Regions from separate parts of the Homo sapiens genome. Here regions 2 and 3 are each linked to region 1. The links are contacts of gene promoters, found by promoter capture Hi-C in blood cells and fetal thymus (Javierre and others, 2016). All regions are on one chromosome and are shown on one strand. Each heading gives the region's core, a stretch centred on a gene start or on the middle of the fragment in contact. The rest is flanking DNA. Distances are from core to core; before and after follow the strand shown.

What was found. Contacts are between HindIII fragments. The CHiCAGO score rates a contact against its expected background, and 5 or more counts as called.
Region 2: a contact is called between a fragment that was not itself captured here and the fragment with the promoter of PAPOLG in region 1, in 1 of 17 cell types (neutrophils). The highest score is 6.1, in neutrophils.
Region 3: a contact is called between a fragment that was not itself captured here and the fragment with the promoter of PAPOLG in region 1, in 1 of 17 cell types (activated CD4 T cells). The highest score is 5.4, in activated CD4 T cells.

What each region holds. Positions count from the first base shown.
Region 1 is chr2:60,754,273-60,757,958 of GRCh38, reverse strand. It overlaps PAPOLG (poly(A) polymerase gamma), which reads right to left and starts at 1,691. Exons shown (of 22, transcript NM_022894.4): 1 at 1,464-1,691. The coding sequence starts at 1,480. RefSeq lists an enhancer at 1,466-1,775. The HindIII fragment of the contact is 3,911 bases long and covers 1-2,138 here.
Region 2 is chr2:61,092,070-61,095,755 of GRCh38, reverse strand. SANBR (SANT and BTB domain regulator of CSR) reads right to left here. Exons shown (of 22, transcript NM_001129993.3): 11 at 3,169-3,292. Among named protein-coding and RNA genes, the nearest start is that of SANBR, 28 kb to the right of the region's middle. The HindIII fragment of the contact is 3,119 bases long and covers 570-3,686 here.
Region 3 is chr2:61,044,674-61,048,359 of GRCh38, reverse strand. It overlaps PEX13 (peroxisomal biogenesis factor 13), which reads right to left. Exons shown (of 4, transcript NM_002618.4): 3 at 2,509-2,634. Among named protein-coding and RNA genes, the nearest start is that of SANBR, 19 kb to the left of the region's middle. The HindIII fragment of the contact is 3,009 bases long and covers 461-3,469 here.

The DNA.
Region 1 (3,686 bases), core at 442-2,941:
TGACACCATGATGACGGGCCTCACTTTTTTACCTGTATGCTGACAAAGTTGGCCAACTAGCCTACTGGCCCTAAAATTCCAAATCCAGGTTCTGAACTTCCCCCATCTAGAGGGGAGGGGAAAGTAAACAACAGAATCCCACATTCCCTTCAAACCATCAATTTCACTTACAGGCAAACAACCTAGAGAAATTCTAGTTACAAGCGTACAAAGAGACACCTAAAAGAACGTTCACTGTCACATTGTAACATTAAAAACTTAGAAATAAAATAGTCACTAACAGGAAAAGAATTAAATTAGGGTGTTTTCCTACAATAGAATACAATACAATAATTAATATTAATTAATTACAACTAAAATACTAACATGAACAAAGCTCAGAGATACTATGTTGTGCTAAAGAAGTTACAGAATTCCAAGTGTGATACGAGTTATATAAAGTTTAAAAACAACTAGAACTATGCCAGTTATTATGAACACATGTGTATGTAGTAATAGCATTAAAAAACATGCAGCTCCCATGATTCGAGGGCGGAAAAAAAAGAAGTAAAATAAAAAACAGGCAGCAACGATAAACATCAAATTCAAGACTGTGGAGACATCTGGAGCAAGAGATGATTGGGACCAGAGAAGGAGGTAGGAGAGTCCTTCAGATGTATCTGGAATGCTTGATTTCTTTTTAAAATAAATACACAGATACGTATATACACACCGTGTGTGTGCGTGTGTGCATGTACGTGTATGTGTGTACAGTTACGTTTTGGGAGAAATGGGTGGTGGCTCCACAAATGATGCTTATGTTATTCTCTACATTTTTCTGCATGTTTAAATTATTTCCTAATAGACCAAAATGGAAGAAGCTACAACAAAATCTTGCCAAGTACGGGAACTGTTTCTGACTTATCAAAGTGTGAACAAGAGGTACAGACCGGTAGATGTTGTGGGTAGGTGGGGAAGCAGGGGGTGAGGGAGAGGGTGGGGACGGCGGTGAAAAGACTGTAGCCTCATATGAAAGAGAAACCCTTGGGCTGCGATAGGTCTTTCACTCCTGAAGACCTGGAGACAGCCGGTCGGGAAGGGAGGAGGGGGAGGCAGGGGGATGGTATTTGCGCCAATGCAGACAGGAGCAGACGGGCTCAGACAGTGCTGGGGGCAGGCGAGTGACCGACAATTTCTCCCTACGGACACAGGCACCTCTTTCCCTCCTCATCCTTTTCTGAGGGCGTCCTCGGAGGCGGGACAGCTGGGGACTCCCGGAGTCCCCGAGTCCGTGCAGGGGTGGCCAGGTGAGCCGCCGGGTTTAGGGGAGGTGCCCTTGCGGACCGGCCGGGAGCCGGGAAGGAGACCATCCCGGCGAGCTGCGTGCAGGGCGCAAGGGACAGGGAACGGAAACAAGGACACAGTCGGACCACCTCAGCTCACCCCTACCCGCCTCACCCCAACCGCCGCCCCCCACCACTTACGCAGACATCTCTTTCATCGCTTCCTGCGTCTCCCTCTCCAGCGAGTGTTTATCGCTCTGGAGTCCTGTTCTTGCTGTTCCCTTCTCCCCCTGTTCACTTTCCTCCGGTCGCTAGTAGCTCGCTTGCTCGCTCACTTTCCCACTTACTATGGCTGAGGCATCCAACCGAGTAGTGAAAACACCACAAAACCGGCTCTATTTATGACAATACAGCGCGGCCGACGCCAATATGGCGCCGCTTCCCAGCCTGCCTCTCGCAGGTCTCAGCCCCGCCCCTGGAGGTCTGGACCACCCTCAGCCACGCCCCCTCTGCCTTTAGGTCCCGGGAGGCTCCGGGGCCCCGCCCACAAGCTCAGGGCTCTCAGTATACCGTTGGTTCGAAGGAGTATTTATTTGGTACTCTCCTTTGTCCGCGGTACTGTCAATGCCGGTAGACCGCTTGGAAGGAAATTTGGAGATATGTTTTCCTTGCCTCTCGAATGGCAGCATATATCATACATTTTTTAAAAAGGTCACACCCTTGCCTAGCAAAAACTATTTCAACGCCTCCGTTATCCTACATCTTTGATTTAATTATAGTTATACATAATTAACTCACCAGTTGAGATTTTGTCTCGAAAGGGTCACACCCAGGAACATACGACTTTCACACAAGTATCCCAGGGAAAAACAAGCTTGTAAATTGGAGGCTTAACTGTTCACTTCACCCCTAAGTACCACCTTTGATTAGTGACATTCTGGCATTTAGCTGACAGAGGTTGAAAATAGTAGCTAGCAGTTTGCAATAGGATAAATCCCAGGCTGAAACAAAAATCTTACACTTTTAAATAGTGGAAATCATGTTCGATGTGAGTGTGGGGATGAAAATGAGAAAATAATAACCAATTTTAAAATGCTGAAAGGTAGAAGTAATTTCAAGCACTAAATCATTACAAAGAAAAGGAAGTCAAGAACTGCTTGCTCTTGAACATAACTCAGAGTCACAGTAAATAGAGGAGATTACTTGCTGATTAATTCATTAAAAAATATTTATTGAGGCAAGATACAGTGGCTCACACCTGTAATCCCAGCACTTTGGGAGGCCAAGGTGGGAGAATTGCTTGAGGCCAGGAGTTCGAGAACAGCCTGGGCAACATAGTGAGACCCTGTCACTACAAAAAGTTTTAAAAAAATTAGCTGGGCATGGTGGCCCATGCCTGTAGTCCCAGCTACTCAGGAGGCTGGGGTGGGAGGATCTCTTTGAGTCCAGGACGTGGAGGCTGCAGGAAACCAGGATGGCACCACTGCATTCCAGCCAGAGTGATAGAAGGAGACCCTGTCTCAAAAAAATAAATAAATAAATAAATAAATAAAAACTACAAAACATATTTTTGAAAACCTGAGCAAGGTGCAGTGGCTCTTGCCTGCAATCCCAGTGCTTTGTGACGCCAAGGCTGGTGGATCACTTGAGGCCATGAGTTCTATTAAGACCAGCCTGGCCAACATGGCAAAAACCCATCTCTACTTAAAAGCAACAACAAAAACCTGACGTGGCCTGGTGTGGTGGATCACACCTGTAATCCTAACATTTTGGGAGGCTGAGGCGGGTGGATCACTTGAGGTCAGGAGTTCGAGACCAGCCTGGCCAACATGGTGAAACCCCATCTCTACTAAAAATAGAAAAACTAGCTGGGTGCGTGGTGCGCCTGTGATCCCGGCTACTCAGCAGGGTGAGGCAGGAGAATTGCGTGAACCCGAGAGGCAGAGGTTTTTTTGAGATGGAGTCTCGCTCTGTTGCCCAGGCTGGGGTGCAGTGGCGTGATCTCTGCTCAGCCTCCTGAGTAGGTGGGATTACAGGCATGCACCACCACGTCCAGCTATATTTTTGTATTTTTAGTACAGACGGGGTTTCACCATGTGGGCCAGCTAGTCTCAAACTCCTGACATCAGGTAATCCGCCCACCTCGGCTTCCCAAAGTGCTAGGATTACAGATGTGAGCCACCACACCCAGCCAAGCAGTGTTTTATTATTTATTTATTTATTTATTTTTGAGATGGAGTCTTGCTCTGTCACCTAGGCTGCAGCACAGTGGCATGATCTTGGCTCACTGCATCCTCTGCCTCCTGGGTTCAAATGATTCTCCTGTCTCAGCCTCCCGAGTAGCTGGGACTACAGGCGTGCGCCACCACGCCTGGCTAATTTTTTGTATTTTAGAGATGGACTTTCACCATGTTGGCCGCACAT
Region 2 (3,686 bases), core at 880-3,379, 340 kb before region 1:
AAAGCTATAGTACTGCACCAGGAGTGGGCCCTTGTTGAGAGAGTTCCTCACTGGGGGAGACTTTAAGAAGGGGAAACCTGAATAGGGTCCTGTCGGGGAGGAGAGGGACTCTGAGCGAGAACAGGTTAAAAACAAAAACAAGTTAGTAAAATAATTCAAATAAAAACAAAACATTAACAATCTAAGCACTGATCTTTTTTTTCTATTTATATTATGATGTACTGAAGTTGCTATTTGATAAGCAATGATCTTTAACATAAATGCATTAAAGAATAGTTTATAATTCAGAATTTTCAGCTGCCTATAATTCAGAATTTTTGGTTGTTAGTTTCAATTGTGATGTTCACATAATGGTTTTTAATTTTAAAAATTTGAGAACCTATAAAAACTATAAGGTGCACGTTCTCTTATATACAATATTCTGCATACAAACCATTTTATGAGTTTATGAGCTCTATAATAAATAGTCAATATCATCAATCAATATTCAATTTGCTGTAAAGGAGAGGAAAATAATCTCTCAAAGTTTCTGCATTCTGACATGTTAAGCAAGTCAGATTTTAGAAGCTTGATATCCTTGATTATGTCACACTCCGATTGTGAGGAGGACCTTTACACACCTATTAGATTAACAAAAAACCCAAACCTGACTATATCAATTGCTACTGAGATGGGGGGCAACTAGAACTCTCATATGTAGCTGGTAGAAATGCAAAATGGTTCCGGGACTTTGGAAAACTATTAGGCATGGCAAGTGTTAAACTACCACACAAACCAGCAATCCTACTCCTAGGTAATAAGAAAGAAGAGAGGCCGGGCGCAGTGGCTCAGGCCTATAATCCCAGCACTTTGGGAGGCCAAGGCAGGCGGATCACCTGAGGTCAGGAGTTTGAGACCAGCCTGGCTAACCTGGTGAAACCCCATTTCTACTAAAAATACAAAAAATTAGGCGGGTGATGTGGCGCATGCCAGTAATCCCAGCTACTCAGGAGGCTGAGACAGGAGAATCGCTTGAACCTGGGAGGTGGAGGTTGCAGTGAGCCAAGATGGCGCCAGCGCACTCCAGGTTGGGCAACAAGAGTGAAACTCCATCTCAAAAAAAAAAAAAAAAAAAAAAGAAGAGAAATAAATACATCCAAGAGAAATAAAAACCTATGTTCACAGGAAAACCTGTATTGTTTATAGCAGCTTTCTTCATAATGGCTCCACACTAGACCACAAACATCCTCCAACTGGTGAATGTCTGAACATACTGTGATATAGTCATACAACAGACTACTACTTAGCCATAAAAAAGAACAAACTAATTTATGAAACAACATGGATAGATTTTACATCCATTATTCGAAGTGAAGGAAGCTAGATTCAAAAAGCTAAATGCTATATGATCCTATTTATATGACGTTCTGGAAAAGGCAAAACTATATATAGAGAAAACAGACCAGTGGTTACCAGAGGCTAGGGTGGGGGAATTAATTGACTAAAGAGCGGCACAAAGAAATTTCTTTTAGGGTGATGGAAGTGTTACATGCTTTGATTGCGGAGGTAGTTATACAATTGTAAGCACTGTCGAAACTCACAAAAAGGATGCATTTTACTGTATATAATACTTCAACAAACCTTTTTAAAATTGTGGGAACACAGAACCCATTGAGTGGGAACTTAAACAGTTTAAAATCCCAATCTGAAGATTTTGACAAGCTGTTCTTCCTTCCCTCTATTGAAAATCATTACGCAAGTGACAGAGGAAAATTACTGGGGAGAGGAAAACTTTAGGGATTCAAAAGAAATTATTTGTCGAAAACTCTGCATTTATACATAAGATTAATTAGGAATGACTGTGACTTAGAAAAACCTATTTATTCCACAAAAGGGTTTATTATAGGTTCCTACAAGTAGCAAGTTTTCTTATGCTTTTATTATAAACATTAATTAAAAAACAAAAACTTTTTGGGAACAAAATTGTTGTAACAACAAAGGCACATATCAATAGCATCCTATCTGCAAAGGTGCTTCTGAATTTCTATAGAAGTGTATAGAACAACAGAGAAAATAGTTTGGCTGGAAACAAGTGAAGGCAATAAGGATTTTTTAATAATTGTTTTCACTGAAAAACTGGATTTGATCACTTAAAACAAGTGACTTTTTTTTTTTTCTCTTTTGAGACAGAGTTTCCCTCCTTTCCCAGACTGGAGTGCAATGGCGCAATCTCAGCTCACCGCAACCTCTGCCTCCCGGGTTCAAGTGATTCTCCCACTTCAGCCCACTGAGTAGCTGGGATTACAGGCATGCGCCACCACGCCTGGCTAATTTTGCGTTTTTAGTAGAGATGAGGTTTCTCCATGTTGGTCAGGCTGGTCTGGAATTCCTGACCTCAGGTGATCCACCTGCCTCAACCTCCCAAAGTGCTGGGATTACAGGCGTGAGCCACCGTGCCTGGCCAAAACCTGTTGCTTTTCTAAAAATTCAACAAGTCTTTGATTGTTTCAGGAATGGAAATAAAAAAAGAGAAAGAAGAAACAATGTCAAGAGAAATGAAACCAGATGCAAAAAATGTTTAACAGCACCATTGCTTTTGCCACTAGTTTTATTTTATTTTTATATTTTATTTTATTTTATTTTTGAGATGGAGTCTTGCTCTGTCACCCAGGCTGGAGTGCAGTGGCACGATCTCAGCTCTCTGCAATCTCTGCCTCCCGGGTTCAAGTGATTCTCCTGCCTCAGCCTCCCGAATAGCTGGGATTACAGGCATGTGCCACCACAACCGGGTAATTTTTCGTATTTTTACTAGAGATGGGGTTTCACCATGTTAGATAGGATGGTCTTGATTTCCTGACCTCGTGATCCGCCCACCTCGGCCTCCCAAAGTGCTGGAATTAGAGGCATGAGCCACCATACCGGGCCTAGTTTCATTTTTTTAAGAGATGGAGTCTCACTATGTCACCCAGGCTGGTATTGAACTCCTGGGCTAAAACGATCCACCTGCCTTGGTCTCTAAATGTGCTGGGATTACAGGCACGAGCCACCATGCCCAGCTGCCACTAGTTTCTTTAAAAAGATGTTGGATATTGTCAAAACACATTTAAACATATCAATTAAACAGCAGATATCAAAATAATCTTGCTCTCAATATTTGCAGAGCAGGATATTTAAAAAAAAAAATCTTACCTGATAACATCTTGAACAAGTCAGCCAATTGATTGTTCCCCACAATCGCCAGTATACATCTCTCCAAGATTTTAATTCTTCGAAAAGACTATTCAAATACTCATGAACATCCCATGTCTTATCTCTGGAGAAAGAGCCTCAATTTTACAAGCAAGTGATATAAACAATTTGTTTTATTTATTTATTTAATTATTATCTTCTTTGAGATGGAGTTTCACTCTTGTTGCCCAGGCTGGAGTGCAATGGCATGATCTTGGCTCACTGTAACCACCACCTCCAGGATGCAAGCAATTCTCTTGCCTTGGCTTCCCAAGTAGCTGGGATTATAGGCGTGTGCCACCACACCCAGCTAATTTTGTATTTTTAGTAGAGGCAGGGTTTGTATATTTGGTGGACAACAGGAAAAGGTATGAATGATTTGAATACCAAATAATTTTGCTAAGCTAGATAAAGGATTACAAATTAAATATAGTTTGAACAGGCCAAGAGTTGGGAATTAGGCAAATGTTAAATGGAAG
Region 3 (3,686 bases), core at 716-3,215, 290 kb before region 1:
ACAAATAGTACATGCATATATATTCAAAATCAAATGCTGAGTAGGCTTAACAGTTCTAGGGTCCATTCTTCTATTTTTATTTTATACTTACTAAATATTTCCTTCCACCTTGAAGAACATAAAGTTTATTATCAGTTGGTCCATTCATAGAGTAGGGAGATTTAGTTCTCTCAAAACTGAAAACTAACATCAATGTCTTTCATATTTTAAACTGGAGTCTAAAAAATGAATATCTTATTCCTTCTCAACTGGGTAAGTTAGGAATAAGTATAGAAAAGATATACCTTTAATGCACTCAGCTTTCTTAGCCTACTTTTGGCAAAAATATAAAATTCGTTTCATGTGATTGTAATAAACAATCCTGAAGACAGTAAATATTAATTTCAATCCAAGATGGGCAAAAAATTGAAGACCTTTGTTATTTCTAGCCATATGATAAATAAAGGCAATACTCTAAGCTTAAAGAAAGATTATTTAATGTACTCAATTTTCTATTGTATTTTCCTATTTTATCTATATCTTTAAAAAGCTGCTTAACTGTTACAATTTTAGTTCAACATTATAATTTAGGCACAATATAAGACTTTTTAATGTTTAATGCTCTATAATAACAGGAAAAAACAAATTTACCATGTCTACGACCGATTTTGTTCCAAAGGCCCAAACATACTTTTCTTGAGCAATGGAGGAAAGCCAAGAAGCAAGCTAGTGTTAAGAGGCACTATTCATTGAAGAATAATGAAATATAAAATTTTTCTGAAGTGTTATGTAACTGAAAGAAACCACATGACCTCTAATTAAAATTATCTGTGTTGTTCCTGTCTCTAACAACAAATCTTTAAAAAATCATTCGTTTGAAATCCAAAATAGTAAATTGCTATTTTCCCTATAAGAAAAATATGAATAGGCCCAGCGTGGTGGTACACATCTGTAATTCCAGCACCTTGGGAGGCCAAGTCGGGCGGATCACAAGGTCAGGAGTTCGAGACCAGCCTGACCAACATGGTGAACGCCTGTCTCTACTAAAAATACAAAAACTAGCTGGTCGTGGTGGCATGTGCCTGTAGTCCCAGCAACTCAGGAGGCTGAGGCAGGAGAATCACTTGAACCCGGGAGGCGGAGGTTGCAGTGAGCCAAGATCGTGCCACTGCACTCGAGCCTGAGCAACAGAGCTAGACTCTGTCTCAAAACAAAAAAAAAAGAAAGAAAAATACAAATAGAATACCTAAAAGTCTAGAGGTTTGTTTTTTTTTTCTTGAGACAAGGTTACACTACGTTGCCCAGGCTGGAGTGCAGTGGTGCTGTTCCACAGGTGTGATTACAATGTACTACAGCCTCAAACTCCTGGCCTCAAGTGATCCTTCTGCCTCAGCCCCTTGAGTAGGTGGGACTATAGGTGCACACACTGCACCTCGCTTAAGTCTAGGTTTTTTGTAAAAGGGATGAGGCAAAGATTTAGTAATCTCATCCAAAATTTTCAATTATTTACATAGTAATGATTTGAACATTGAAAGTATTTCTTCCCTGCAAAAAATGACTAAAACCAAAAAAAGGGTGAAGTTTCCATAAATAGATCCTTCCATGAAAAAACAGCCAGAGTTGTTAAAAGCACAAGGTCTCAAGTTAGACAAACCTAGATTCATAGTCCAGTTCTATTGCACCTTTGCTTTGTGATACTGGACAATTTACTTATTCTGAGTCTCAGTTTCTTCAAGGGTAAAACAATGACAGGATAATAATAGTACCACTTCACCGTATTATTGTAAGGCTTAAATGAAATATGTAAAATACAGTACCTTGTACATAGTAAGTACTCAATAAATAACATGTTATTGTTATTAGTACCTTTATCAACAAAACATCACTTTTTGCAATAAACTTGAATCCCCATAAATACACATATTTAAAAAAATCCATAAAAATCCTGATAATCATTACTCAGGAAGGGTGAAGGAAAAGGTCATTTTGCCTAGAGTCATTAAAAAGTATCAGTGACTTGGTCCAAAAATAAACCCGAGATGCGTATAAATCTCTTGCTGGGGTTCTATAATACTTCATGACACTATTTCCTAAAATACTTATGATGAAATTTCTGAGGTAAACACTGCTGAAGTAATAAAGAAGCAACACCAGTCCACAAGGACTAACAGCAATGCTTAGATGATGTTACATAATTCCTTTGCTTTATTAGATTTGTTATGTTTAGTTACTGACATCACGTTTTTGTGTGGGGATTAACAGTTTGAAATTCAAGTATTTTGAGTTTAGAAAAGCCTATATAAACAAAGCCTTTCCTTATCTCAGTGAAATAGTATTCGAATAACTCTGCTGGGGCATTTCTTCCTGACTCCTCCAGATTTGGAAGCTCTAAATTGACATGAAAAAGAAGTTCTAGTAACTATCTCTAAGTTAACTAACAATGAACAAGATCCTTTGTTGTAGTTTTTAATACTGCATTTATGAATATCAAAATTTACAGATAATTCCAACTTATTCATAATTTATTACCTTTGAGAGCTAAGTTCAGCATATCACCAGCCCGGAAAGAAATTTCTTCTTCAGATACGGCAGCAAAATCATATTCTGCTCTGGCAACTACATGGTCATCCTCACCACTTGCCCAGTTGATGCTGTCTATAAGCCAAATTAAAATTAGGTTAATAAAATTTACAAAAGAAAAATGCAGATATTTCACTGGCTATGGCTTGCAAACTGCATAAATTTGCCAAGAGAAAAGTCCTCCCCTCCCAAGTAAAAACTATAATGAATACTATGTTAAATCAACAATAGATCCACTAAAGATACCTATTATGAACTTTTTCCTTTCTTTAAGCTCCAACTTCCCGCTCTCTTACCGTGAGCCAGGGGTTGGCAAATTTTTTCTGAAAAGGGTCAGATAGTTAATATTTTAGACTTTGAAAGCCAAGAGGCAAAACAGGATATTGGGCAATTACTTTTATAAAAAGAGGAAACAAAATTTCCATAAATTTATTGACAAGATTAAAAATATAATAACCATGTTTCTTTTTGGTAATACAGGTCTATTTGGAAGTTACTTAGAAGAATGAAATATTTTGGGGGAAGGATATTTCACTTAATTGGAAATCAATTATAAATATTCACTTGCTAATTCTAATTTGTAATAAAATTTGAGGTACTGCATTTTTGAAAATGCCTTTTCACACAGATAGGTAATGTCAAATCCTAATATGAGTCTATGAGTATGTGGTTTTAATTGAGCATATTTATTAGTTGGGAGAGTAATAGGCCAGAATATAATTCTGTTAAATTCTTCTCTTGATATTTGCCTTTTACCATGTTATTACATTGCAGATTAATCACTTCCAAATGAAGATTAAGTGGAAGTTCCTCAATTGCATAGTTAAATGGATTTTGAAATATGGAAATTTCCTTTGTGCTTGCATGGAGGTCCAAAAAATGCTCTGGCATTGTATTAATAGCTTAAGCTTGGAAAATGTATCTGCTGCCAACTTGCGTGGGAATGGAGATACTGCTTGTGTTAACTTCTGACAGTCTGAGAGGTCTATAAAGCAGTGTGACATTACTTGTGAGTCAAACTGTATTAGGTGTTGTCAAAACTTTACTCCAGCATAAGTTTTGCATATAAGCACTGTTCTGCTTTGTGGTTTCCGTTTGAATTACTTAAGAATATAGGTCAGGCGTGG